Regions from separate parts of the Homo sapiens genome. Here all the other regions are linked to region 3. Evidence: promoter capture Hi-C in 16 types of primary human blood cells and fetal thymus (Javierre and others, 2016). All regions are on one chromosome and are shown on one strand. Each heading gives the region's core, a stretch centred on a gene start or on the middle of the fragment in contact. The rest is flanking DNA. Distances are from core to core; before and after follow the strand shown.

What was found. The method cuts DNA at HindIII sites, captures the fragments that hold promoters and counts their contacts. A CHiCAGO score of 5 or more calls a contact.
Region 1: a contact is called between a fragment that was not itself captured here and the fragment with the promoter of ETS1 in region 3, in 7 of 17 cell types (naive CD4 T cells, naive CD8 T cells, total CD4 T cells and 4 more). The highest score is 11.4, in naive CD4 T cells.
Region 2: a fragment that was not itself captured here is called in contact with the fragment with the promoter of ETS1 in region 3 in 15 of 17 cell types (activated CD4 T cells, non-activated CD4 T cells, naive CD4 T cells and 12 more); the score reaches 22.5 in activated CD4 T cells.
Region 4: a contact is called between a fragment that was not itself captured here and the fragment with the promoter of ETS1 in region 3, in 1 of 17 cell types (naive CD8 T cells). The highest score is 5.2, in naive CD8 T cells.
Region 5: a fragment that was not itself captured here is called in contact with the fragment with the promoter of ETS1 in region 3 in 17 of 17 cell types (activated CD4 T cells, total CD8 T cells, total B cells and 14 more); the score reaches 36.3 in activated CD4 T cells.
Region 6: a contact is called between a fragment that was not itself captured here and the fragment with the promoter of ETS1 in region 3, in 7 of 17 cell types (activated CD4 T cells, naive CD4 T cells, naive CD8 T cells and 4 more). The highest score is 13.1, in activated CD4 T cells.
Region 7: a fragment that was not itself captured here is called in contact with the fragment with the promoter of ETS1 in region 3 in 1 of 17 cell types (naive CD8 T cells); the score reaches 5.4 in naive CD8 T cells.

What each region holds. Positions count from the first base shown.
Region 1 is chr11:128,115,155-128,118,024 of GRCh38, reverse strand. All of the region lies in intron 2 of LINC02725 (long intergenic non-protein coding RNA 2725), which reads right to left. Among named protein-coding and RNA genes, the nearest start is that of LINC02725, 21 kb to the right of the region's middle. The HindIII fragment of the contact is 260 bases long and covers 1,471-1,730 here.
Region 2 is chr11:128,155,645-128,158,796 of GRCh38, reverse strand. All of the region lies in intron 2 of LINC02725 (long intergenic non-protein coding RNA 2725), which reads right to left. Among named protein-coding and RNA genes, the nearest start is that of LINC02098, 52 kb to the left of the region's middle. The HindIII fragment of the contact is 775 bases long and covers 894-1,668 here.
Region 3 is chr11:128,586,231-128,589,031 of GRCh38, reverse strand. ETS1 (ETS proto-oncogene 1, transcription factor) reads left to right here and starts at 1,474. Exons shown (of 10, transcript NM_001143820.2): 1 at 1,474-1,544. It overlaps LOC105369565 (a long non-coding RNA gene), which reads right to left. Exons shown (of 5, transcript XR_948163.3): 4 at 2,072-2,692; 5 at 1-11. RefSeq lists a silencer at 1,315-1,521. The HindIII fragment of the contact is 9,036 bases long and covers 126-2,801 here.
Region 4 is chr11:128,097,570-128,100,448 of GRCh38, reverse strand. All of the region lies in intron 1 of LINC02725 (long intergenic non-protein coding RNA 2725), which reads right to left. Among named protein-coding and RNA genes, the nearest start is that of LINC02725, 3.2 kb to the right of the region's middle. The HindIII fragment of the contact is 6,858 bases long and covers 1-2,879 here.
Region 5 is chr11:128,174,775-128,177,948 of GRCh38, reverse strand. The region is part of intron 4 of LINC02725 (long intergenic non-protein coding RNA 2725); the gene reads right to left. Among named protein-coding and RNA genes, the nearest start is that of LINC02098, 32 kb to the left of the region's middle. The HindIII fragment of the contact is 382 bases long and covers 1,575-1,956 here.
Region 6 is chr11:128,080,070-128,082,859 of GRCh38, reverse strand. No RefSeq gene overlaps it. Among named protein-coding and RNA genes, the nearest start is that of LINC02725, 14 kb to the left of the region's middle. The HindIII fragment of the contact is 2,088 bases long and covers 438-2,525 here.
Region 7 is chr11:128,131,182-128,134,198 of GRCh38, reverse strand. All of the region lies in intron 2 of LINC02725 (long intergenic non-protein coding RNA 2725), which reads right to left. Among named protein-coding and RNA genes, the nearest start is that of LINC02725, 37 kb to the right of the region's middle. The HindIII fragment of the contact is 5,085 bases long and covers 1-3,017 here.

The sequences.
Region 1 (2,870 bases), core at 351-2,850, 470 kb after region 3:
TGTTTTCAGCCATTATTTCTTCAAATATTTTCCCTAGAACTTTATTTGTCTTCATATTTTTTTCCTCTCCCTTCTTCAAATTGCATAATATTGCATTGATCTATCTTGCACTTTGCTGATTCTTCTGAGAATCTTTGTAGATTCTCCAACCTACTATTAGCCTCTCTAGTGAATTTTTCATTTTGGTTGTTATGCTTGCAATGTCACTAACTTAATTTTTAAAAAATAATTTCTATTTGATGAGATATTATTATCATACCGTCATTTTTTAAATCATGGTCCTCTTTTGTTCTTTGGACAAATTTATAATGGTTGCTTGGGCTGTTTGCCAGTTAAGTCCACCCTCTCAGCCACTTCTAAGTCATGGGTTTGGGTCAAAAAAATTTTTTTTTCCTGTGTGTGGGTAACACTTTTCTTTTTCTTGCAGGTATTATAGTATTTTTGTGGTAAACTGCCTATTTTAGATAATCTATTGTAGCAACTCTGAATACTGATTCTCCCTCTCCCTCAGGAGTGGTTGTTGTTTTGTTGTCTATTGTTTTGTGACTTGGCTGAACTAATTCTACAATGTTCATTTCCCCCAGAGTGCGCAGCCTCAGATGACCCTCCTCAGCGTTTCCTCCCTTGGCTTTATCTTTAAGCAAGGTTTTATCTTTTTGTCTAGAAGTGTCCCCTAGGATGGCATAAGCCACTTATTTATCAAAGGTTCTGCTTCAATCTCGTTAGCCAGTGAGAGCTTTATCCTACACCATTGGATATATGTGTGGCCTTGAGGCTGCTATTACAGTTCAGAGAGTTTACATTTCCTTGCTCCACATTTTCTCAGGGACTAGTTGCTTGAAGGTTTTTTCTCTGATTGCTCCTACGGGACACATTATTAAGCACGCACACGGTCTTACAGATCTCCAGGGATGAGCAGGATTTTATTTTTAAGCTTGGCTTCCTGCCAGTCAGTGTTTGGTCAGAGGTTGCGTTTAAGATCTATGTGCTAGTGACGCCTCCGCCCTATGTTGATGGGTCTGTGTGCACCTTCGGAAATGCTTTCAAATCTGCCCTGCTCTGATTACTCCCTTGTAGATGCAGCCAACAGCTTGCACTCAGCCATTAAGACCCTAGTGCTGATGGTGATTCTAGGAAGGATCTTCCTGGCTGTCTCTATTAAATTTATGGCTGCTCTACTGTTTTGCTTGTATTATGAAGCTGCCAGCCTCCTCTTAATTGGTCTCCATGAATATTTCCATGATTTGCAACAATGCACTTAGTGTGGAATTCTCCACACTCAGTTCCTAATCAAGTCTGTCCCTCTCTGCCCTGCCAAACCTCCGCCGCCCAAGCAGAACTCTTTCTCCACTATACTGGAGCTGTGGGAGGGAACTGCTTTTCTTGGAAATAAAACCCCTTTTTTGAGTGGGCGTCGGGGGTGGCTAAGAGCCTCTTTTCTTTTCAACTTTCTTCTCCTGGCATTAAGCTTTCATCCTACAAGCCAGCTGTAGGGGAAAGCAACTAGGACCTCAGTATTCTTAGCTTGAAATGCCTGAAGTAGATCTTCCACTCTAAGAGTAGGGGCTGGGTGGGGAAAAGGAGAAAAGTCCTCTCAGCCATGACTGCCTGGAACAGGGCTTCTGGAACGTATCTGGAAAATCTATATTCCCAGACTATAATCTGAGGGGAGAGGGAGTTTCTGTCTTGTTGGCATCACCTACCCAGAATAGAGTGCCCAAGTTAAAGCTTCTATAACACAAAAAAGGGTGTGAGGGGTAGGGGAGAAGGATGCAGCTCAAATACCATAGACTCTCATTATTCTAATAAATACGAAGTAGGTTTTCTTAAATAAATATTTCCCTGTTTGCTGTATGCCCTTAGACGATTTCCAGATATTTAAATAATTTTTATTTTTTATTTTTATGTATTTATTTTTTAGATGGAGTTTTGCTCCTGTTGCCCAGGCTGGAGTGCAATGGCACGATCTTAGCTCACTGCAACCTCCGCCTCCTGGGTTCAAGTGATTCTCCTGCCTCAGCCTCCCAAGTAGCTAGGATTACAGGCATGCACCACCACACCCAGCTAATTTTGTATTTTTAGTAGAGATGGGGTTTCACCATGTTGGTCAGGCCGGTCTCGAACTCCTGACCTCAGGTGATCCACCCGCCTTGGCTTCCAAAAGTGCTGGGATTACAGGTGTGAGCCACTGCACAAGGCTGATTTTTATTTTTTAAGATATTTTAGTTTTTATTTTGTAGGTGTGTATATTTCTCTGGTGTTACCTCAATTACCCATCTTTGCAGAAATCTTTCATTAAAACACACAGGCTCAAAATAAAGGGATGAAGGAATATTTACCAAGCAAATGGAAAGCAAAAAAAATGCAGGGGTTGTAATACTAGTCTCTAATAAAACAGATTTTAAATCAACAAAGATAAAAAAAAAAAGACAAAGACGGGTATTACATAATGGTAAAGGGATCAAAGCAACAAGAAGAGCTAACTATCCTAAATATATATGCACCCAATACAGAAGCACCCAGATTCATAAAGCAAGTTCTTAGAGACCTACAAAGAGACTTAGACTTCCACACAATAATAGTAGGAGACTTTAACACCAGATATATGAATGATTTTTTTTTTAAATTTCCAGTTAAATTGTTTTGCTTGGAGAGGGTCTGTAGAGCTCTTTATTCTGCCATTCCTGAAATCCTGCCCACTCCTCTTCGTTTATTTTTAGCTTTATTCATCAGTCTTGATTGATATGCTATTGTAATATATTTAAATTCCATTTTTAAAAATCCCAAAGACATATTTCTAATTGATTGTCATTATATTTATCCATGTATTTATCATTTTTTTCTTTTGCTGTGCTTTCCTTCTTATATCT
Region 2 (3,152 bases), core at 32-2,531, 430 kb after region 3:
CTCAGTGATACTTAGTCCACAGACATTGTGGGATAACCACAATGAACCAAACATCATGCCAAATGCTTTGGTAAAAGAAACAAAAATCTTATGGTCCCTGACCTTAAGGAGTTTGGCAAGACTGATGAGAAAAATCTGTAATGAACTTGCAGGCTGATAGACCCATATGTACAGAATGGAATGGACTTTATAATTTGAGCACAGAGGGGAGGTCTGTCTCCTTATAGTTTGATCCATTGAGATGAGCTCTACATAGAAGCCCTGAGATCATTCTTCATCCTGATAAAATCAACAGTACTACTATTAATAATAAAAAACAACCTGGTATGCACAATATGTTCTATCAAACATTCTCAAGTGTATCACATATTCTCTCATGTGTATCATGTCGTTTGCTCCCCATTACAACAATCCTTTGCAGTAGATGTTGTTTTCATTTTGGTTTGGGAAATTTAAAAAACTGAGGCTCAGGGAAAAGCGAACTTCCTAATATTATAAAATTAATAAATAGTGGCACTTGGAGTTGTCCCACTGACTGTTGCATGTTTTGTATTTATGTATCACACACTTTTTCTTCCCTTAAGCTTTTGGCGAGAAAAGTCAAAACGACAGAGCCAATGATTGAAAACATCTCTGTGCCCTCAGAGGTCTAATGAATGGGTGGGTTGGCATTTACAAAGCCACATGTACCAGTTTAGACCACTAGGGGGCCGTTATCAAATTGCTTTTTCCAGTGAGAGTGCTAACTAGTACCTCAACTATGTGATTCTCCGGAGACCCCAAAATATCAAGGATTGAGTTAGGGTCCAAAATTACCAGCTTTTCTTGAATATAGCAAGAGTTCAGATAGAGAGAGCCCTTCACTGAGAGTACAGAGTTCACAAACAGAAGCTTGGAGTCCATATTGGCTCCAGACCATCTTGCCAATAACAGAGAACTCTGTTGAAATTGAGCGCTGTTACAGCTCCACCTGCTGGAATTTTCCTAAACCAACAATTGGAATTTCCACAGAAATTTACTAAGTGTGACAATCCAAGACAGAATTTAAAATCTTAGTGTCAATCCATCTCTCTCTTCAAAAGATTTGCAGTAACACATGTGTGAAATAAGATAATGTCCCATGGAAAAAAGAATAGTCACAAAAAGTTATCTTACTTTCCATATGTGTAAGTATAGCTTTTCATGTGGTAAGAGATAACTTGACCTTAAATGTGCAATTTTAGATGAAAATATGATAAGAATAGTCTCTATTTTACTACCTAAAGCAAAAGTGGAATCAGTGATGATATAGAAATGCAATAACCTCAGAGTCCATAAAGCTGAGTATATTTATACAATACATTGATCTGCAGAGTATTTTTATCTTCATCTCTCTTCTATGGGCTCAAAATAAAGGTCAAATTTAGTCTTCAGTGAGATTTCCAGGGAGAGCTCTCCCTTAAAGATCTGCAGTCAAAACTTGCTTTCATGTTCTTTTTCCCTCCTCATTCTTTTCTTTTCCAGATCTTTTCACCCCCTTCGTTTCCACCCCTATCCTCCCATAAACCTGGGGCAAACTGTAGTCCATGAGCAGCAATACCAGCAACGACATCTTGGATTCGTTAAGAGCTTTGCAGATGAGCTCAAACTCATATTTCATCTCATTCCTGAAGTCATCAGATTCAAGCTTGTCACATTTTCTGAACACAAAGCTCCAGGCATGTTTTATTCATTATCTGTTCTCGTCTTTGAGACAAACACCTGCAACCCATTTCAGGGTCGAGAGACATTCATGAAGTTTCAACCCACCATGCTTAGGTTTTCATATTTCTACTTGGGCCAGGAATGTCAGAGTGTCATGGTTCCTACAGCCACTTAGTAGCCTCTCTAAGTCCTAGGGCCAGTTGCTCATGAAGGTGTCCTTGCTGTTGGCATTTGAGGGCAAAGTTGAAACTGACATAGGGACAATCTTTTATCAGCTTTTTACATTGTACGACTTAAGCTCTAAGCCATTTTCTTAAAATGCTTGAGGACGTTGGCATAGAACCCAAGGTAAGTAATGTTGAACTGAGTGTGCTGCCCTGGTGACTGTTACAGTGTTCTACATACACAACTTCATGCCTCATTGATAATGGGGATTAGTGATTGTAACACTGTGACTCACAAGATGAAAGCCCGAAGTCTAGTTTGGTCACTGGCTTCTAGGTAACCTTGGACAGTGGTTCTACTTCCCTGCCATGGTATATCTACTGTTGAAGAAGGATACTTGTAAACTAATCAATCATCTGCCAAAAAAAAAAAAAAACCTTTCCTTATCTAGTGCTCAAAAGAGAGCACATGGAATAGATTGTGTGTTCCCTCTAGAATTTGTAAAGTAAGAAATGAGCAAATACATTCCAAAAATACGCAATAGAATAAGTCAGTGGTAAAAGAGAAATACATCTCAGATCTTCTGATTCCTAATCCACTGACGGAGGAGAAAACACTGTTCTTGTGATGGCGTCTTCCTTGACGATAAATAATTTAACACTTTTAAAGTAATTTGAAATGTTAGAAGAAAAACAGAATTGGTTTAAAGTTTAGAGATTAAAATGAACATACACTAACAAACTGCATCTCAGCTTTCCATATATGCTTATCTTTTTGTACTCTGACAAAGCTATTAACTCACAAATTAATTAACCAACTAAACAAAGTCAATATAAAAATAAAGGGACAACGGTCCCAGAAGGTTAAAATGCAAGGTACTTGCACAGCAAAATTGCCAGCAAATACCACTCCTTTTTCTTGAATTCACAGAAAAACAAATCTGAAACTAAGTTAGAAAGCAATTGGTCAGTCAGCCAATAACCAGGATACCAGGCCTGGGACCTCCTATAGAGTCATGCCATTTCAGAAAGGGGTAGGATCTATGACAAGCAACAAACAAGAAGGAGAAGTGAGCCAGCAGACCATAAAGGGTGATTTCACTCCATCTCAGTTTATATTCTGATGATTACGTTCTGGGCAACATCAATTTCTTCCTACTCACCTGCTGGAGGAGATAAACATCATGGCCTGACACATACTCTACCTTTTCAACCATGACTAATCTAAACAGAAACATTCACAAAAGTCCAACCACTTAAGAGGTGTTTGTTGAGGGCATATATTGGGATTTAAGGGTATACAAA
Region 3 (2,801 bases), core at 225-2,724:
TTTCAATTATCCTGCAAACATAGTGAATACAGTTGTAATTAGTTATGATTGGTATAATTGACCGTGGGCTCTTTAAATGGGGCAGTGTGCTGAAATTGACTGGGTTACAGGGGCAGGCTGAAGCTTCCCTAGCTCTCTTCATAGACTTCTTTTGTAGCATGTATTACATTTTTGGGGGGAGATCGTTGATTTATGTGTCTGTCTCCTCACTACAATGCAAACTTGCTATCTTTCTAGTGCCTAGAACAGTGCCTGGCACAGGCAATTTATTAAACTAAAGTGAACCAATAGCATTACCTCTTCCTTACTTCCAAGTTAATGTGCAAAGGCAGAAGATGAGCAGTAAAATCTTGCTTTACTTACAATGTCATCTTAACTGCATTGCCAGCTTTATACAATGAAGGCTGATGATGATATGGCTCCAAATGACAGTTATTAGATTTTCAAGGATTTTCTAAGTTTGTATCTTTATTAAAAAGAGAAAGAAGCCAACTATGACAAATCTTAACTCCCACCTCCTACTCAAAGAAGATGGAATCTTTTAGGATAAAAGTCTTAGATTAAGCAGCCAAATACTGACTTCTCAAAAAAAATTGTAATAACTCCATTCATAGAAATGAGATTATGCTGTAACATTCTTACCATAGTCCTGAATATGTGAATAAAAGATGCTGTGTATTTTCACTTAGGACAGATGTAAGATTTTCATATTGTTTACATTTTCCCTAAATGAGAAATGTATGAACACTTCTGCCCTTTTATTCCTGCACCACGGACCATGAGTCAGGGCTGCTAAAAGTATCCTTATTTTAGAGATTGCCTAAAACCAGACTTATATGAAAAGGGGATTTTTAGCTTTACTTTTCAGAAATCCCAAGTCCATATCCAGTCAGCTCTCTTCCACAAAATTATTTTCTTTTCTTTAGAAAATATCACATTTCATATCAAGTTATTAGAGAGAAACGGGAAGCCTGAGCAGGTGACTGGGTGGTGGACGTCCTGTGTTTCTAAAGCAATCCCTTTCCCTCACCTGAGACCTTGCCTAGGTTAATGGGGGCTCCATTGAGAAAGTCAAGGAACATGAAGCATGAATATTTACATATTCAGCAGAGAGTAAATGCATCAGCAAATGATGAGGTGAGATACAGTGTTATCCCACTGAACTAGTTCCCTTTTGCTCATCTCCCTCCCTGTTACTCTCCAAGGCTGAGTTATATTCAGCTGAAGCACAATTTGAAGAATACGAAATAATGTGTGATTTGGTGCCACCACTGTCAATCAACAGTGCTTTCCACCTAGACTGCTGTGCCTGTGCCAGTGGCTGCTGTCCTGGTGCCAGGGGCAAGAGGAAGACTGCCTTTTTTCCAGCTTTCCCTGGCTTGACCACACCCCCCAATTTAAGGAGGCAGCTCTATTAGAAACATTATGGTCTTTGCATCCTCTTAAGCTACGGAGCAGAGGATTCCCGCAGGTAGTTGGAAAGAGACCACAGACTTTGAGGGAAGCTCACTCAGGATCTGCTCTCCGGCAAAGTAGTAAGTGAGGTGTGTGTCAGTTTCTGCCTAAAACTTTTCAGTCCATTTTCCTTTTCCTGCTTTAAAAAAATTTCTGTGGAATTAAAGAGTAAGTCGGTAGGGAGATTCAGGATACAAGTGAGTTTTCTCTTTCTCTTTTCACGTCTTTCTATATTCCCATTTAATTGTTTAACAATTTTCAAAAATACTTCCTAACCTCGTCAGAATAGTCTGAAAGCAAGACTATGTTTTTAAAAATGTTCCCTGCTTCACAAAAGTAAAACCATGCACGTTTTAGATACCCGTAGATTACTTGTCAGAAACCCTGATTTTTTTTTTTTTTTTTTGCAAATTGGAGCACTTCCAAAGAAATAAAGCTGTAGTTAAATATATAAATTTCTTTTTATTCTCTTTCACTCCTAGTAAATCTATTGTTTTACTTTTTTCTCCTGCTAGTAGTTTAATGAATTGCTTTTAATAGAGAGGAAATTGCTACAGGTTTGAATCTTGCTAGCCAAACTAGCCTGTTTGGTGTTTTTCTCTGTCTTGGGACTGACCTGCAGTTGTCCAAAGATCTACAAGTTCCTAAGTCTGTTGTTGAGACATGGTGTGGGTGTGGGCCGCGGTTGTCTCAGAGTTAGGGAGGTATTTCTTGTCCCCACGGTAGAGCTGGACTCAGTGGCAGGAGATGTCGATGGCAATTCCTCTGCATCCGGTGATTTTATCTGGCCGTGACACTTTGTATGTGACTCCTCACCCACCGTTAAAGGTCTCTGTTACCAACTTTTAAAGTAGTATTTTCTTCAGGCAAACTTAAAAGGGTGCTGGGTCACTGAAATCAATGCATTCTATTGCAGGATTTCTTTATCACCTTTTGGGTAAGTTTTTGTTTTTAATCTCAAGTCCATTTTCCTTCTTACTTTAGACCACTGCCATGCAACTGAGAAAAAAGTATTTGTTAAACAGCAGGAAATACCAATTCTAAAATGATAACTCCATCAGCTCCATTTGATTTGTAAAATTACTGATACTATAACTCTTTCATCAGTTGTGGTTTTGGGTTTGGTGGCCTATTTTTATCCAAAGAGAAAACGCTTTTTCTTCAGGGGCCGTGGGCTGTGCACAAGGGCTGCAGGGTGGCCACTGCTGCTGTTGAGAGTCTTGCTCACCTGTTGTTCCTGAATGGAGGGAAGGGAGAGCTAATGGGTTAATGTCTGCAAAGTGCTTTGAAGATGAAAAGGTCTTTTCATGTGTTCAGTAGTGCAGTTATTAATATTAATATTTGAA
Region 4 (2,879 bases), core at 299-2,798, 490 kb after region 3:
AGCTCTACAGCGAATGAAATACTGGAAATAGAAAAATGGAAAGATAAAGAATAAGAAGAGAAATGGCAAACTCAAAAGCCATCAGTGCTCAGACAGAAAATTTAAAAATAGGAAGGACATGGTATAAAAAAATGGGGAGTAAAGAGAATTGTGGCAATTGGATTGCATGCCAGGCTAAAGATATTTGTGGTCAAATGATTAGACAAGATACTGGATAAATATAAACAAAGTACTCTGCAGGCTGGAGTTTAAGGTCATGGATCAGCAACATGAGATTCCATGTAGCAGAAATGCATAATGATTTGATTTTAAAAGGCTATAAGTGCCCTCCTAAATAATTTTAATTTAACTTCCAGACAATGGAAAAATACTGAAGAATTTTAAGTAGGGCAGCAACATAATATTTCCAATAAAACAAACAAAAACACACTGTAGGATATAGAGAAAATGGAAACTTGAGCACATACACCTGAAGGTCCATGTACATCATTCTCATGAAAGTAACCAAAAATATAAAAAAAGGGAAATTCTAGACTCTATTCTGAAAACTAGAAAAAGATAGCACCCTAATGCTAGGAATTTTAAAAAATTTGCTGGTAACTTATGCTATAGTGGAAGAGGTAGCCTGATCATTGGCTGTCCACTTAAGTAAGAATATTTGCCCGACATACACATGACAGATCGCATCAGTATATTAATATCAATGTTAATTCAGAGCAGCAAGAAGTGGAGCAGGGACTGGGCTAATGCTACATTTGGATCTCAAAGCCACTTCTGGAAAAGGCACAGTTTCATAGGCCAGTCCAGCCAGGTTACACACAGCAGCACTTATACCCCACTTCCCATAGATGACCATGGGAGATTAAAAAATGAGACATTTCCAAGGCTGGCTACTAACAGGCAGTCAGACCTCAACTGGCTTCAGAACACTACTGTAACTAGAAAACAGATATTTGTCATCTAATCCCATTGTCCCCACTTTAAGTCTCTATTTTTCCTGCATATCTGCCCATGACCTTTGTTCTTAAATTGTTAAGTATCATCTAAGCATGTATCATCTGAACATGACACTGCCTAATAGAGATGTTCGCCTCAATTTGAACTCTAAATCCTGTTTAAATATAGTTAATCCTTTATAAGAATTAGGAGAGAAAAAATACTATTTTGTGAAAACACAATGCAGTTAAAAAAAATGATATCTGTCTGTGAAGTCAGAACAAATATTTTCCATGAAACAGCTCTTCATTAATAGGAAAAATTTATGTTCCTACCCACTGATATGGCTAGGTTTACTTCCCCCACCCAAATCTCATCTTGAACTATAATCTGCATAATTTCCATAATCCCCAGGTGTCAAGGGAGAGACCAAGTGAAGGTAATTGAATCACAGGGGTGGTTCCCCCCATGCTGCTCTCATGATAGTGAGTTCTCATGCGATCTGGTTTAATAAGGGGCTCTTCTCCCTTCAGGAGACACTTCTCCTCCTTGCTGCCTTGTGAAAGAGGTGCCTTGCTTCCCCTTCCCTTTCCACCATGATTCTAAGTTTCCTAAGGCCTCCCCAACCATGCTGAACTGTGAGTCAATTAAACTCCTTTGGAAATCACCCAGTCTCAGGAAGTTATTTAAAATGGACTAATACAGCCATATTAAAAATGTTTTTTAATTTGTTAATTTAACTATAGTTATAAAGGAGGAAAAATCTAACATCAGGAGAGACAAAAATATATGACTTTTCTGTTAAGTAAAACTGTAATTGAGGCAATGAGTAGGAGTTTATATTTGGATTAAAATTGAATACATGATATAAGCATAATGAAAAAATTCTCACAAACCTCAGAAAAAAAGAACAAAAATAATGAGAAAATATACAATGTATATGTGCTTTTAAATATTTTACATAAAATTGGAAATTCAAAAGAGGTGAGTACAAGAGATATAGTGTATGAAATAATAAAAAGTAATTTAAAATGTTTATAATTTAAATAAAAATTTAAGTTTTCATAATGAAATAGATAACTAAAAGTCAAATTTAAAGAAATAGAAATTTGTTAGTGCATTTATGTTAATTTTTAATAGGAATAGCATCTTTTAAGAATCCAGGTAGAAAAAATATATGTTCATAAAGGTAAAAATTTCAGCTGACATCATACTTTTGGCATTTTCTTTCAGAAAATGGTGATGTAATTACACTCATAACTCTTTGGGTATAAAGACAAAACACAAAAATGCTAGGTGAATTGAATGCCCACATGTAACTGAGAACATGGAAAAAAGGAACTCTATATTCTTTTCTACTAACTCTGTTCTTTGATTCACCCTGTCAACTTGGCATATATATCTCCTTAAATCCTACTTAATCTCCAGATAAAGACAGCAACAACATCATAATTCCACACAACATGATACAACTATTGCCATACAACCAAATGTTCACTGATCCCTTCCTCCTAAAGGGAAGAAAATTTCGTTTGTAATAATTTTTATAAAGTACTCTACTCAATTCCCTTTCAAAGTAAAAATTGCTCAGAGAACTATTTCTGTTGAATAAGAGAAGAAAAAAAATAACTCAAGAATGGATAAGTTATGCTACTATAGTACTCATGGTAAAAAATGGTATAGGCAAATAATAAATAATTGTTGTTAATATGGTCACAAATGGAATTTAGGTGTCTAAAATTATTTTTGAAATAAAATTATTCCTATGAAAAAATAATAAGCAAGATGTAAAATAAGAGATTAAAGTAACTAAAATTGAAAAAGATATTCAGGAAGAATTGAATGTATACTGACTTCTTCACATAGTCAATGCAATAAAATATTTCTTTTAATATTTTACGAATTGAAAGCAATGAGAACTTTAAAAATATTTTCTAAAATCT
Region 5 (3,174 bases), core at 516-3,015, 410 kb after region 3:
TTTGGATGATGATGGTAGAAACAAAATGAAATTGATGATTTAGAGAGCTATCTAGGATGCAAAAGTCAGTAGGATTTGGTAGTAGATTGAAAGTGAAGACAGAGACGAAAATGGCAAGAAGAATGACATGTTTTCTTTCTTGAACAACAGAGTATGTGAACACATGGATCCTTCTCAGAGAGATGGAATTTAAAACAAGAGTGTGGAGTCAAATGTTTTGACAGAAAGCATAGAGTAAGAGGAAAAGGGGGCTCAAAACTGAGGCTTGAGGAATTCCAACTGAAGAGGTCAAATTGGTGGAGGACGTGATAGGGAAAAAAAACTATATTTGGAGAAATGAAAATAAACCAGGAGAATGGAAAGAACCCTATCAAATGCAATGCAGTTGTCAGGTACCATGAGAATTGAAAGATGTCTGTTGGGCTCAGGAGTGTGGAGGTCCTCATGACTACTATAGAGGAGCAGTTTGCCTGGCTGCATGGCATGTTTTGAAGTCCCAAACTCATTACCAGACTGACCCCTGAGAAGAGCTGTGGAAAGCACCAGTGTCTGAAGAGGTTTTTCTCTGTTAGTGCTGAAGGATATAATTGGATGGTTGAATGAGTGGGTGAATAGAGACTTTGCCTGCATCTCCAAACTTGTTTCTTATTTCTTAGTTGTGGCCATTTCTTTCTGGGAGAGGAAGGCATGGGGAAATGGTGAAAAGGGAATAATTGTCACACGTATCTACTAAAACAATTGACTCCACCCTCTTGTTTTAAATTCCATCTCTCTGAGAAGGATCCATGTGTTCACATACTCTGTTGCTCAAACAAGAAAACAGGTCATTCTTCTTACCATTTTCTTCTCCCTCTTCACTTTCAATCTACTATCAAATCCTCCTGACTTTTACCTCCTAGATATCTCTCTAAATTATCAATTTAGATTCCTAAATTAATCAATTCCTAAATCCTCTGGCTGGCCAGATTATAACATGGTAAGAATGAAGGAACTAAACAGATCTGGGGTTGTGAGTGGTGAGTTGTGGCCATTTCTTCCTGGGAGAGGAAGGCATGTGGAAATGGTGAAAAGGGAGCAATTGTTACATGTATCTACTAATTAAGACATCACATCGATCAGGTAACCCGTATTTATCCTCCACCTAGATCAGTCATTCCCAAGCCTGGCTGATCATCAGAATGACCTATGGAACTTTTACAAAGGACACACTTCCAAGTTACACCCCAAAACATCCTAATTCAGCAAGTGTATGCTGGATCTGGGCGTTCAAGTTCTACCTGGTCTACAGTTGAGTCTGATGATCATTCAGTCAGTGAACTGCTGCTTTAATTACTCTTGGTTTTAATTTCTACCCAAAACTCCCTGAAAATTCCAACGAAGAGCTCAGTAACCCTGTTCTTTCTTTTCCTCATTATTTTGCAAAATATAGAACACAAGGGGAACATACTTTTGATTTATTAATGATGCCAAGAAATATCAAACAGTTTATTGTTTCTATTATTAGAGGAAACCAGACCTGAAAAATAAGTGTAGCATAATCATTTACATACACAAGGCCCTTGAATGGTAAAGCTTCTCATGAATATCCTGGGATGAATGCTGGGAGGCTATTACCATCATCAATTCCATTTTTCAGATGAAGAAACCTAATTACCTCTTAAAGACCCCATCTCTTGAAACCATCACATAGGCAACACCTGAATTTTGGAGGGGACACACTGAAACCATAGCAGGGGGCAATATAAAGGAAGAGCCCAGCTTGAGAGGAGCACTTGGAAACCGTTTCTTGGGCCTTAAAGGAAATCTATCCAGGCTGGCGTTTGTTGAGTGCTGCTACTGCTGTTGTGACTGTTTATTTGTTGCTATTGTTGTTGCCTATTTTGTGCCAGTCATCCTACATATTTTACACCTCAGTGCTGAGGACAGCAAGCAGCTCCCCATGTTACCAGGTAAGCTTTCCAGATAAAACACAAGATGCCAGTTAAATTTGAACTTAAGATAAACTATGAGTAATGTTTAAGTATAAGGGTATCTCATGCAATACACAAGACATTTATATTAAAACATTACTTGTTGTTTATCTGAAATTCAAATTTAACTGGGTGCTTTGTATTTTTATTTGCTAAATCCAGCGGCTTTGTCCCTAAGACAAAGTTGGGAATTCTTAAAGAAAGAAAATCAATTTTATTTTTGGAAGCCTCCGATTCCAGCCTATTGTCTTCCTCTGTACACTTTTCCCTGTGCTTGCCACTAAGCTATGTCCAGAGTACAGCTTTAGGATCTCTGGAGCCTCTTCATCCACATAGAGCAGGACAAGTCAATAAAGAGGCAGCATTGGGGGAGCATGAACTTGACCCATTCAAAGTTAATGGTAACACCTTGGTGAGGAAAACAAATGTTAGGGAATGAAACAAAGGTACTTCCTGTAAGGACCACCATTATCACTAACTGAGGGAATTTGAGAGTGCTTCACTTCAAACGGATCTGAGGTATGGAAACCTGAGTTTATACAAATCCAGGGGTGCTTTCGTTTTACTAATTACAAAGGGATCCCTGGCCTTATAAAAAGATTTAAAAGATGTTTGGAACATAGTTTGACTTTTTCTATTCAAAAATCGTTCAATACAGCTGTTATATACAATAATGTACTCATTTATACTTTAATAAAATATAGATTTGCTGTTGTATGGGTTAGGGTCACCAGATTTAGCAAATAAAAACACAGAATGCCCAGTCACATTTGAATTGCACACAAACAACAAGTATTTTTCAGTGTGAGCATGTCCTGTGCTTATACTAAAAAATGAGTTGTTGATCTGCAATTCAAATGTATCTGTGCATCCAGTAATTTACATGGCAATGCTGTATGGATACAGTTTCATATTCCTGATTTTGAAGGCAAAGGAAGATGGAAAAAGGGTTTGGGAAAGGAATAGATAAGAATTAGGTCAGTATGTAATGCACTGAATTTTATCATAGGACCTGCTGGGCTCAGTAGATGTAGCAATTAGGTGCTTTTGACAGTGAGATTTGAAGTCTGTCTTGGAGGTTGGTAGACTTATATTACTATGAAGCCATGAGCCACTCTAGGTTTTGTGACCTAGCCACCCCCGTGACAAAACAGATATTTGCAAAAACAGCTGGGGGACACCTTCCGCACAAGGTCGGATGCAC
Region 6 (2,790 bases), core at 232-2,731, 510 kb after region 3:
AGAAAGAGTGACTTCTCCCTAGTTTGTCCTATGAGGTCAGCATCATCCTGATACCAAAACCTGGCAGAGACACAACATAAAAATAAAACTTCAGGCCAATATCCTTGATAAACATGAACAATTCTAGCAAATCGAATCTAGAAGCACAAGATAAAGCTAATCCACCGCAGTCAAGTAGGCTTTATCCCTGAGATGCAAGATTGGTCAACATATGCAAATCAGTAAATGTGATTCACCACATAAACAGAACTAAAAACAAAAAACCTTATAATTTTCTCAGTAAAAGCAGAAAAGGCTTTTGATAAAATTCAACAGCTTTTCATGTTAAAAACCCTAAAAAAAAACTAATCAATGAAGAAACATACCTCGAAATAATAAGAGCTATTTATGACAAACCCATAGCCAGCATCAAATTTAATGGGCAAAAGCTATAAGCTTTCTTCATGAGAACTAGAACAAGACAAGGATGCCCACTCTCACCACTTCTATTCAGCATGATATTGGTAGTCCTGGCCAGGGCAATCAGGCAAGACAGATAAATAAAAGGCATCCAAATAGGAAGAGAGGCAGTCAAATATCTGTTTGCAGACATGATTCTATACTAGAAAACTCCATAGTCTCTGCCCAAAAGTTTATAGATCTGATAAACAATTTCAGCAAAGTCTCAGGCTACAATTCTATGCACAAAAATCAATAGCATTTCTTCCTTTCTTTCCTTTCTTTTTCTTTCTTTCCTTTCTTTTTCTTTCTTTTTTCTTTCTTTCATCTTTCTCTTTTTCTTTCATCTTTCTTTCTCTCTCTTCTTTCCTTCCTTCCTTCCTTCCTTCATTCCTTCCTTCCTTCCTTCCTTCCTTCCTTCCTTCCTTCTTTCTTCTTGATGGAGTCCCACTCTGTCACCCAGATTGGAGTGCAGTAGTGCGATCTTGGCTCACTGCAACCTCCACCTCCCGGGTTTAAGCGATTCTCCTGTCTCAGCCTTTCGAGTAGCTGGGACTACAGGTGCCTGCCACCACACCTGGCTAATTTTTGTATTTTTAGTAGAGATGGGGTTTCACTATATTAGTCAGTCTTGTCTTGAACTCCTGACCTTGTGATCCACCCACCGTGGCCTCCCAAATTGCTGGGATTACAGGCTTGAGCCACCATGCCTGGCCAATCAGTAGCATTTCTATACACTAACAACATCCAAGCTGAAAGCCAAATCAAGAATGCAATCACATAAACAGTAGCAAAAAAAGAACAAAGTATCTAGGAATACAGCTAAATGAGGAGGTAAACAATCTCTACAAAGTGAACTACAAAACTGCTAAAAGAAATGACACAAATAAATGAAAAAATATTCCATGCTTATGGATAGGAAGAATCATTATCTTTACAATGGCCATACTGCCCAAAGCAATTTATAGATTTACTACTATTCTTATCAAACTACCAATGACACTCTTCACTGAATTAGAAATAACTATTTGAAAATTCATATAGAACCAAAAAATTTTAAAAGATCTCAAATAGCCTAGACCATTCTCAGCAGAAAGAATAAAGCTGAAGGCATCACACTATCCAACTTTAAACTATTCTACAGGGCTACAGTAATGAAAACAGCATGGTGCTTGTACAAAACAGACATGTAGACCAGAATAGAGAGCCCAGAAATAATGCCAATCACATACAACCATCTGATCTTTGACAAAGTTGACAAAAACAAGCAATGGGAAAATGCTTCCTATTCTATAAATGGTGGTGAGATAACTGGCTAGCCATATTCAGAAGATTGAACCTGGACCCCTTTCTTACACCATATACAAAAATCAACTCAAGGCTGATTAAAGACTTAAATGCAAACTCTAAAATTTAAAAAACTCTGGACGATAACCTAGGAAATACCATTCTGAACATAGGCCCTGGCAAAGATTTCATGACAAAGATGCTGAAAGTAATGGCAACAGAAACAAAAATTGAAAAATTCGGGCCTAATTAAAATAAAGAACTTCTGCAAAGCAAAAGAAGCCATCAACACAGTAAACAGACAACCTACAGAATGGGAGAAAATATTTGCAAAGTATGCATTCAACAAAGGTCTAATATCTAGGATCTAAAAGAAACTTAAACAAATTAACCAGAAAAAAAAACAAACAACCCCCTTAAAAAGTGGACAAAGGACATGAACAGGTATTTTTCACAAGAAGACATAACATGTGGCCAATAAGCATAAAAAAAATCATACCATGAGTGAAGAGGGATAGTTTGACTTCTTATATTCCTATATGGTTGCCTTTTATTTCTTTCATTTGCCTGATTGCTCTGGCTATCACTTTCAGTACCATTTTGAATAGGAATGATGAGAGGGAGCATGTTTGTCTTGTTCCAGTTCTTGAAGGTAATGCTTTCAGTTTTTACCCATTCAGTATGATGTTGGCTGTGAGTTTACCGTAGATGGTGCTTATTATTTTGAGGTATGTTTCTTTGATACCCAGTTTGTTGATGGTTTTTATCATGAAAATGGATGTTGGATTTTATTAGAAGCTTTCTGTGTTTTTTGAGATGATCATATGGTTTTAGTTTTTAATTCTGTTTTTGCAGCGAATTGCATTTATTGGTTTGCATTTGTTGAACCACCTTTGCATCCCAGGGATAAAGCCTACTTGATTGTGGTGGATTAACTCTTTGATGTGCTGCTAGATTTGGCTTGCTAATATTTAGAGGTTTTTTGTTTGTTTGTTTTGTTTTGTTTTTGAGATAGTCTCACTCTGTTGCCCAGGCTGGAGTGCAGTGGTGTGATCTCAGCTCACT
Region 7 (3,017 bases), core at 514-3,013, 460 kb after region 3:
TAAAATATCTGGTCCTGTAACACTTTACCACAGTATGAAAAAGATTAATAATCTGAGTTTATACAACAATATTTTGGGAAAATGTAACACCACTCATAACACAGTCTCATTAGAATGGGTTCTATACAATATGACAATAAATTAAAAAAAAAATTATCGAACTCCTCTATGTGCCCAGTGCTGTGCCAGGTGTCATGAGAAATAGGAAAAAAAAAGTGCAACCCAGGCGTTCTTGTCCTTACCATGCCAACAATTTGATTTTTAACTATCCCCAAGTTTTATTTTATATTCCTAGCTGATGTTGATATCAAGGGACAAAGTCAAAATTCATTCTGGTGGGGAATTGACCGCTTCAGCCTTTTGTTAAGCTACCATTCCTTTTCTGTCAAAGGGTGTCAGCCTTTCTACGTGCAAGGGCCTGCCTGCCTAATTTGGACAGAGTGGGCCAGACTGCCCATGTCCTCCCAGCCCTTCCACTGGAAGTTGGATCCCAGCCTCACAATCATTCCTGGGAGGGGGAGGTGCAGCTCAAGCCAAATTAAGCCAGTGCTAGGAGTGACAAGTAAATGAGTGCAAAGCTGCTCCAGCTCTGTCTGCCCTTTCAGAAAGTAATCAAGTCAAATTATCTATGAGAAGAAGTGAAGTTGAGGGGGCCTGCAAATGAAAACCAGACTCAGGCAGCGGCTGACTTGAGAAAGCCCAGGAGCTCTATTAAAGACAGAGAGAGGGAGAGAGAGAGAGAGAAGAGAGAGAGACATTTTTTTCACTACCCCCAGACTGTTTACTTTTAAATATTTTGCTTTCTCCCTTGCTCATGTCTACCCCTTTGTTTATTTTTATTTGTTTCCTTTTCTGGATCTTCTAAAACTAGGCTGAGGACTCCAAGGGCAGGCAGAAGAGCCCATATCTGTGTGGGAACGGGGAAAGAATAAGGGAGCCTAGAGTGGGGCTCTGGCACAACTGTGCCTGGGTTCTGGGGTGCCTTTCCAGTGGGAATGACAGGTGGTGGTCAGAACTGGCTTGGGTCTAAATCTTCTGAGTGCAGCTTTTGGTCCAAACTGCAGGTCATTGGTGAGCCCTGTAAAATGCATTTGGATCCTTTAGGCCACTGATTCTTCTCAGGCAATTTTACTCTCGAGGGGACATGTGGCTATCTCTTGAGACATTTTTGGTTTTTGGTTGTCACATCATTAAAAAGTGAGATTTGATACTGACATCTATTGAGTAGAGACCAGGCATGCCCCTAAACATCATCCTATAATGTACAGGACAGCTTCCCATGAAATAGAATTATCTGGTTCAAAATGCCCCTAGGGCCCAGAATGAGAAACCTGCTTGAATAAGTATTAAATGACAAATGGTCTGGAAATGAAGAAATGAGGGCTGGAGCACCTCCTCCAGCTGCCCCTAATCCTAACGCCTTCAAATGAGGGCATCCCCTGTGCCCTCATTTGAAAATGGAGGCTGAAGTTGCACAAGAACTGGCCTCTCCAGTGATGATTTCTCCCCCTTGGAAATAGAGCAGTAGCTGTACAGTCACCTGGGCCCTCTCACAGGACTACACCTCCTGTTCTTCCATCTACCCCCGAGAACCATCACATTCTCTTTCCGACAGAGCCATCTCCAAGGAGCACTCGCCTTGACAAGACTACAGGCCCACATCACATCACTACTTCATCCTCCTCTTTCCAAACTTAAATGTGTGCCCAGGTGAAATCAGGAAGGGGGGGCTTTCAAGGGGAAAAGCAAGTATTTATAGTCTTTATTGGACTGTGTGGATCAAAAGGGAGAAACCCAATTACTTTGCCATAAGGCCGCGAACCACTTGGCAAATGAGTCTCTCAAGCCAAAACATTGCTAAGAGCCTGGGGATGGTCAACAGTTGTTCCTTTGGAGCAATATTGGATGAGGGAGTTGAGCAGTGGGAAGGTAGGAGGTAGCATGGTGACAGTGTCCCAGTAATGCCCTCTGGTGTCTGCGTCACTTTATCTCCTGACATTCACAGGCCCTTTCCTGGGCCCCACCTTTGAGGGGTGATCAGCCCCTCTGAAAGGTTTTCTCTGTGTTTGGCATGATTTTCAGGGTCAATTGGCTTCAGACTCTGTGTGCTCTTGCGAAGAGCTACCCACCATTTCTATTTCTAATAGAACAAATACGGTTTAGTTGGGCTAATTGTTTCTAAGCTCCAGAATGATGAATAGAGGAAACTATTTAACTCTGTCTCTCTGGAGCCCACTGAGGGTTTGTTATGATTCAGAAGTGAACTTGGGAAAATAAATGATTGTGTGAGCCCAGTTCCTAACAGATCCATGGGCATTTTTGTCAACATCAAGCAAGTTCCGTGATCAAGTGGTCACAGAGCTCTCCCTAAGAGAAGCAATGGTCAATTATCTGTACTGGATCTGGTGGCTCCGGAAAAGGGACCTCTAAGCCTCCTGTCCTCAGACTAACCTGGAAGGCACAGTGTCTTATGCCAGACTTTATCAGACAACAACAGGAGCAAGAAAACACAGCTTCAATTTATAAAAAGATAATAAAAGATAATATTTAGATACAAATTCTTATCATCTGTCTTCTGCTTTTTTCCACTTCAGTTCTCTCTGTTTCTTTCTCTCTCTCTCTGTCTCTCACTACAAAAGCCCCAGTTCAAGGGGATTTTACTTTGCTTTGGCAAAAATACCGTTTTACATTTCCAATAGGTTTAAATGCCTGTAAAGAGGCTCAGAGGGTGGCTTGATCACTGACAGCCTCAGACTAAATGATTTTTTGGACGCAGTGAATGCAACCCTATCAGAAGCATGTGGAATTTTATTTTGCTTAAAATTCACACCACTTTAAATTAAAGGAAGAAGCATTAGATCAAAGGGATGCAAAATTTTGTTCAGCCTCAAGAAACCATGGGCAAATTGTTCACCTCACTTGGTTTCAGTTTTTAAAGTACGGAGGATACACTAGATAATCTTGTATGCCCTTCGGACACTGACATTTTGTGGATTTTTGAGCCAGAATTCATCCTG